Regions from separate parts of the Homo sapiens genome. Here region 1 is linked to region 2. The links are contacts of gene promoters, found by promoter capture Hi-C in human tissues and cell types (Jung and others, 2019). All regions are on one chromosome and are shown on one strand. The core of a region is centred on a gene start or on the middle of the fragment in contact, and the rest is flanking DNA. Distances in the headings are between cores, read along the strand shown.

The links. The method cuts DNA at HindIII sites, captures the fragments that hold promoters and counts their contacts. A contact is called where the count stands out against the background at its distance.
Region 1: a contact is called between a fragment that was not itself captured here and the fragment with the promoter of SCAF11 in region 2, in 1 of the 25 tissues and cell types used here (lymphoblastoid cells).

Annotation. Positions count from the first base shown.
Region 1 is chr12:46,677,781-46,681,670 of GRCh38, reverse strand. No RefSeq gene overlaps it. Among named protein-coding and RNA genes, the nearest start is that of SLC38A4, 150 kb to the left of the region's middle. The HindIII fragment of the contact is 4,963 bases long and covers 1-3,890 here.
Region 2 is chr12:45,988,712-45,992,350 of GRCh38, reverse strand. It overlaps SCAF11 (SR-related CTD associated factor 11), which reads left to right and starts at 1,777. Exons shown (of 15, transcript NM_004719.3): 1 at 1,777-1,998. RefSeq lists enhancers at 664-863, 1,344-1,413, 1,424-1,623, 1,342-2,055, 1,864-2,073 and 1 more and silencers at 1,744-1,793, 2,134-2,233, 2,634-2,703. The HindIII fragment of the contact is 22,524 bases long and covers 1-3,639 here.

The DNA.
Region 1 (3,890 bases), core at 1,194-3,693, 690 kb before region 2:
GATGGTCTCGATCTCCTGACCTCGTGATCCGCCCGCCTCGGCCTCCCAAAGTGCTGGGATTACAGACGTGAGCCACCGCGCCCGGCCTGACTGATACTTTCTTAATTGCCTGGAGACTAAACTTATTGATTTAGTTTTCATTGCATTATAATTAATGCAGAAGGAAGATGGAACTGAATAGGAATAAAAATATTACATGAACTCAAAGTATCTAGATTTCAAGGTAATTTTTTTTCTAGATACTGATTGAAAAGAAAAAAAGGAAAAAACCTCACAGGACTAAAAAGACCAAGAAAAGTCCATCTTGCCATATGTGAGGTTCATATATCCCCCAGTACAAAATGATAGCTCAGTTGCTAAAAATTTTACTGTTTATGACTTTGGGGTAAAGCTTTTACTAGTGCAATGATTCAGGCATTTGATTCTTTGGAAAGTGTGTAGAAAATAATAGATACAAGGCAATGAAATTGGCTAGCTATATTAGGGTACGTTGATACCCTAGAAAAGAATTATGAGAAAGTTACGAATAAATGTCAGTTAAAAATAGTATATTCAGAACTTATTTATTAAATGCCTCCTATATGCCAGGATTTGTAAAAGATACAGAAAAAAAAAAAACTTTGGATATGGTCCCTAATTTCAAGGAGTCCGTGTGACATTATACCACCTTAAATTCTCGTGAATAACAAAAGACATGCATGCTCTTTCCACCTGCTTATACTACTGATTGCTTGAGGAAAATAAGGCACAGAGAAATGAAAGGGCATTTAGACCCATTTCTTGAACAAATTGCTTTACCCATTCTATTTCCAACTTGCAAGGAAAAGTTTTGCACCCCTTTAGGGAGGATCCTTCCAAAACTACTAGGCTTCTTTTTTTTTTTTTTCTCACAGGAAATACCTTTAACCACAGGGAACGTCTGATGCCTATTATTCCTGTAACATCCTCTCTGTCCTGGATGGTGGCTATTTTTCCAGTTGTTAATGGATCATCCTGCAGGTTCAGCTGCCTTCCTCCTTCAAATGCCCAGATCTCTTGTGAATGTTTCTTCACTAATCTCACCCAAAGGACCAAAAGCATTTCAAAATTATGAGCAGGGTGGGGAAGAAAAGAGAGTACCTGCAAATATAATACACTTAAAATAAAAATCACTGGCAACTACTCAGTTGGCAAAAGCAAGTTCCTCCCCTCAGTGTCAAATAAAGACATACTGATAAGCACTGCTGCCGTCTCTTAAACCATCATTTTGCAAATTATTTTCCACCATGCAGAAGGGTCACCTTAGAGAATGACAGCTCTAGACATTATTTCTATTGTTCCAGTTCCTCCTCTGAGGCTCCCACAGCCCCATTCCTCAGCACACACATTGCTTTGGGAGTAGTTACTATTGCCACAGAGATGTCTTTAGATTGTGCTTCAATGTTAGTCAATACAAAAGTGAAATGACCTAAGATTTTGATTCAGTAGGCAAAACACTATGTGTATAAAATACATCTAAAGAGGAAAATTAACAAATTTGCCATCTTTGGATTTTACTTCCTACGGCTAAAAGCCAGAGATCAGGCTTCTTTTAATCCTTTTCATCCTCTTTAACTTCAAGCTATTTCTTGTATACCATCCTGTGTGTGTGTGTACACCTGACCCATTCCTACTCATTATTTTTATATTAGTATAAGAACATCAGTAGATCAGTTACCCATCAACCCAAGCTGAATATGTCATCAATTAAAAATAGTTACTGGCCATTCTCATATTTCACACTTTTAGCATTCTTTTAACAGGTACCTAGATGTCTATTTAAATCCAAATAGTCAAACAATAATAACAAGATTGTTTTCACAGGACATTGACGTTTGATATAACACACTTGAAGGAATTCTGATCGTTTAATTAAATTGATACTCTCTTGTAACAGGAAATCGACACAACCCCTTTGGAAAACTGTTGGCATTATTAACCACTTTGCAAAACTGTTGGCATTATTTACTAAAGCTGAAAATACACAGGATTTCCACTCTTGAATAATACCTATATATGTGTGCATATATACACACACTACACTACAAAGAGACGTGCAAAAGATTGTTCATTGTGGAATTATCTGTAACAAAATAAAACGGAAACAACTCAATTCTCTATCACCTGGAAAATGGAGAAATAAAATTATGTATATTCGTATAATAAAGTCTTTTATAGCAATAAGAATGAATGAACCAAGCTACATACAACAAGAATACAGCTCATAACCTAATGTTAAGCAAAAAATGTCAGACACAAAGGAATGCATACTGAATGATTCCATTTATATAAATGCCACAAAGAAGCAATCTATTCTATATATTAATCTGTGATGACATACTAATGGCAGTGGCAGTAGAGGAACAATGATAGTGCCTGAGAGGAAGCAAAGGGGGCTCCTTGGATGTTTCATGATGTTGTCTTTCTTGACTGGGTTGTGGTTTAATGGATGTTTACCTTGAGATAACTGGTTCAGCTGTACATTCATGTAATATGCACTCTTTCTTCAATAAAAAGTTTTAAAAGAAGTAATGATACATAACCAATATTTCTGATGCACGGAGGAGGTATTATGTGGAAAAGCACCAACAACTCTTGGTTAAAAAGTGACTTGGAAGAGTTAGACTCTGAATGTGAAGTTTTAGGAATATCTTAAGCAATTTATTTTGCTTATATGTTTCTTTTTATTATGCATAAGGAGGATATATGATAAAATTCTCTGTATAAGTAAGCCTTAGAGATCTCCTTTAATAAGTATCAATTTAAAATTCTAAGTGATATGGAAGTATAGTGACAGGTTTTTTTCTTAGTGGTACATAAAATAATGGTACATTTTACTATCTATGGTTTCTTAGATTCGATGGTATATAATATAAAAGTTATTGTTTATAAATTTAATTTATCCAACAAAAGGATTCAGAAGGCAGTGAAATCAGGAAGTTGGCATACTCATAAAGAAATGTTGAAGCACTGGCCATGTAAATGCGAAGCTGAGTCAATGTAAGCAACAGTAGTACTAAGCTCAGCAAGTCTTAACTTGTACAGTGATTACGCAGAGTAACAGTTAAGCATAAAATCCAAGTAAAGAAAGAAGGAATTTAGAAGATGGATTAAATGAGAGCTGTATATCTGCTGTGGTTTTTAAAATTTCTGGTTAGCCCAGGGAAATTATTCAGCTTAGGTCCACCAACTTGGGCTAACTGCAATTACAGTTATGAGAATGAACCAAATATCTGCATCTTCCTAACTCCCACTTTTACTTTGTTTCTAAGTTGCCTGTGTACTTGTGTTATCTCCCCCACTAGACCATGACACCCTAAGGACAGGAATAGTCATATTTCTCTTGCATCCTCTATAGCATCCAGGTAGTGCTGAAAATATAATAGACAATTAGTAATCCCCCAAAAAAACACCTCTGCATTATAATGTCTCAGTTCAAGTATGATCCAAGCAGTTTTTGTCAAAGACATCAAGAGGAACCTCAAGCGCTCTGAATGCTAATTCATCTTCACTGACTGTAAGCACCAGAATTAACCTATCTTCCCAGTTTATACACATGTCTGGTGTTAAGACGCAGTTGTAATTCATGTTTCATAGACTCAACTGCTAATGTAGAAGTTTCAGGCTCCTACAAAATCCCCACCACCCTACAAATATTTCTGGGGATCCTCCAGTAGATGGCTCACCTATACTTAGTAACAAATCCACTCCTGGTGTCTGCTACTGCCACTCTCTCCTGTCTTTTCTACCAGTGCATCTTCCAGCCAACACCATGCTCCATGGGTACTTCTCTCTCCCACCAGAGAGGAGATAGCTGCACTTTACAGTGTTTTCTTGGAAAAGAGGTGGGTAATCGCCTTGCCTCCTTTGGG
Region 2 (3,639 bases), core at 528-3,027:
GCCTCTAGCTCATTTTCCCCTCAAATATCCCAAATACAGTAAAGCCACCTAAATTCCCAAACCCCATATCAAAAACAGTACACTGAAAAACTCCAAAGACTTTGACAGCGACAAGACCGCCATTCATGTGTTCCTTCAGCAAGTGCCAGACGCTGTTATGAAAGTGATAAGACACTGTCCCAATCCTCACAGTGTGAGACAGTGAGCAGACTCAACAGAATGCATAGGATGAAAGTGCCAGAAAAGCGACGTCCTCAGGGCGGGAGCAGGGGACGCCGCAACGTAGTCTGCGAGAATGCAGGAAGGCGGCAGTGAAGCGGTCGGTCGGCGGGGCCGCGGCAAAGTGGGGAGGAAACTCATCCCGGGCAGGCGTCAGGGTGGCTGGAGAGCGCAGCACGCGCGAACAGAACGGGGGCAGGCGACAGGAAAACGTGTGAGCGCGCGGCTGAAAGCGACTGGGACCTGGGTGAGCCGCGCGCGGGGAGCAGAGCTTAGTCCTGCGGGAGCCGCAAGCAGGACAAGGGCGTGGGTGGGAGGACTGGAAGGTCAGCTGGTAGATGGGGGACACTGAGGGCAGGCAGAGCAACCGGAAGCTTGCTGCAGTCGACGAGAAGAGAAACTAGGAGGTTAAATAATCAGTGACTTTGAAAAAGTCAAAATACCTCCGAGGTAAAACAAAACATTTAACAACCCGCCGGGGGAAAAAGTGGAGGATGGCACACACGTCACTATCTAACCACAACGCGGAGGCCTTTTAAGTAAATAATGATAAAGTTTTTGTTGTTGTTTGAGACAGGGTCTCGCTCTGTCGCCCAGGCTGGAGTGCAGTGGAACGATCTCGGCTCACTGCAACCTCCGCCTCCCGGGTTCAAGCGATTCTCCCACCTCATCTTCCCGAGGAGCTGGGACCGCAGGTGCGCGCCACCACGGCCGGTTAATTTTATTTTTTGTAGAAACGAGATCTTAATACGTCGCTCAAGCTGGTCTCGAACTGCTGAGCTCAAGCGATCCGCCAGCCTCGGCCTCCCAAAGCGCTGGGATTACCGGCGTGAGCCACCGCGCACCTGGCCCAAATTTAATTTTGTGATGTGGGGTTAAGACATGGGAAAGCCCCTAGGCTCGGGGAGTCAGGCGGGAAAGCTCTCCCCCTGGCATCTAAAAAAATGCCCACCAGAAAGGAGGAAAGGTGGGCTTCCAAATTGCCGACTCTTCACTCCACAGGCTGCATTTCAGGTGGGCAGCGCAGCCAGGTGAACACTCAATCCACCGCAAACATGCGGACACTCTTTTCAATATCAGATTACCATAAAGATAAGGAGCACACCCTGCGCAAAATCCTTCCTGTCCAGTTCCCTTAAAGCCTCTTTCATTGTCCTCCGCGACGCAGCCTGTAAAACTGCCAAAGGAGGGCAGAGGCCAAAGTCCACGCGCTGCGCATGCGCACCATCCGCAGTGTGGGCGAAGGGCGGTGCTGGAAGGACGTTTCCCAGAAGGCCCCTCCAGCGCAGCTGCCCTTCCTCCCGCTCACAGGCCGCGTGACGTGACTCCACCCACCACGCTTCTCGGTCTCAAACAGCAGTTTGCCAGCGCCCCCCTGCGGCCCAACTGGGTACTACGAACATGCACTCAGGGCCAGAGCGAGCGAGTAAGCAGAATGTGGCGAGTCCGGCTGCCGCCGTCGTCACCTTAGCGCGCCGACAGCGAGGGAAGGGAGGAGGAGGGAGACGCGCAGGGAGGGGAGGGGAGGGAGGAGGCTAGACAAGGCGGGGGAAGGGGGAGTAGCGGTGGCTTAAGCCGCGCGGAGCAGCGCAACCTGGGTCGCTCCCTGCTTCGCCGCCGCCTCCGGACCGAGCCAGCGGAGTCAGTGTCCTAGAGACCCTGTAACACCACAAAGCGGACGAAGGAGTCCATGTTGGGGAACTTGGCAGCGGAGTGACTGGGACCTGGGAACCTACTGTGGGGCCGCGGCCGGACCGAGCGCCTCGACCTCGGTCTGAGGTAAACACTGGTCGACCCGCGGGGTGGATGGGCTTGGGCAGCTGTCTGGGAGAGACGAGGGTTAGCGGCCGGCGCAGAGCGCTGGAGCGGGCCTAGGGCGACGCGAGGGCTGACAAAGTTTCGGAATCTCGCGCGGCCCGTGCGACGTCGTGCGCTGGGAGGAAAGTTGGAGCTACCTCTCGAAGTGGGGGAGGCTGCGGCCGGGAGGGCCCCTTTCCCTCTCGCTGCCCCGCGAGGGAGGCTCGGCCCGGCCCTGGGCCGCCGCCGCCTCTCTGTCGCACTCTGTCCCATTTCCTCCTTGTGGCCTACGCGTCTCCCGCCGCCTTAGCTGGCGAAGCCTGTCCCCGTCCGGGTGCAGGGTCCTACGGGGGGGGGGGAAGGGGCTCCACGCCAGAACCGCCACAGACACCCTCCTCCCTGCAGTGGAAACGTGTCCTGCTGAGCTTCCGGGCGCTCCCGACCGCGGTGTCGGCTTTTCTTGGGAGACTTTGGTCGCGAGCGTCCAAGCCCGCTAGTGAAACCAAACTTTACTACGCCGTGACCTCTCGAGTGCGCGAATGGGGAAGAGCCGGCGCTTCTAAGCATCAGCCTTTTTCACTCCTTGATCTGAACTTCAAACTACTCATCCACCCCCAGTGTTTTAAATTCGCTACCTGGGCTGACAACTACGGGGCCGGGAGATATAAATTTAGCCTAATCAGTCGCCCCTTCTGAGACCTAGGAATTTTGAACCATTAAAAAGATTTCCTACAGATGGCTGGCGGTCTTGCCACCAACACGTATTTTGAAGTATTGTTTCAAAAGTAGACGCCTGATTTAGAGTACTTGATTTAGACATTCACGGATTCAAATGTTGAATTTTGAAATACTTCCAATATATTTCCGTATTGTATTACATACAGTGTCTACCAGCTGACTGTTGTTCATTCATTTTGGATTACATTTTGGCTAACATGCTACCACTGACCTAAGATACTTAAGCAAAACTGCTGAAAAATGTTTTTAATGCTTTGTGTAGTAGATGCTGATGTTAAATTTTTTTCTCCGATTTGGGAATTTTCCCCGAATTTTGGGAAAAGCATATTAATAAATGCATTATTTTTTCGTTTTAAAAGAAAAATTAATTTCTACATATCACCACCTACCTCAGCAGCAGAATATCAGGGCAGTACATTTTAAAATAACGGTTGGTTTTTGTATTTTATTAGTAATTGTATTAAAATTTTGACATGTAATCAAGTCTGTTTCTAAACAATTGCTTTCTCTTTCCTGTTTCTTTGGCAGTTGGCTTGATCATGTCACTATTTTGGTTAAAAGATGCAAGAAAAAGTTCATGGGCCTTTTGTTTTTGTTGTTTTAACTAAGCAAGAGAAATGAAATCTTGAAACTGTCTTTGGATTTCTTTTGTTTTATATTATCCTATCGGATAATCTGAATTTATATTTTTTATGCAATGTGAGTTTTTTAAAAACAGTTCTTAGGGTAGCTGCATTTTAGCTATAATATTTTTTGGTGCTTGCAGATATTTTAACAGTCATTCAGTTTTTCACATTCAGATAGTGAACTTTTTGCCTGAGAGTTTGAGTACATTTTAAGATTTCACTGGGGTAAAATTTGAATGTTTGCTTACTGTAAGTATAC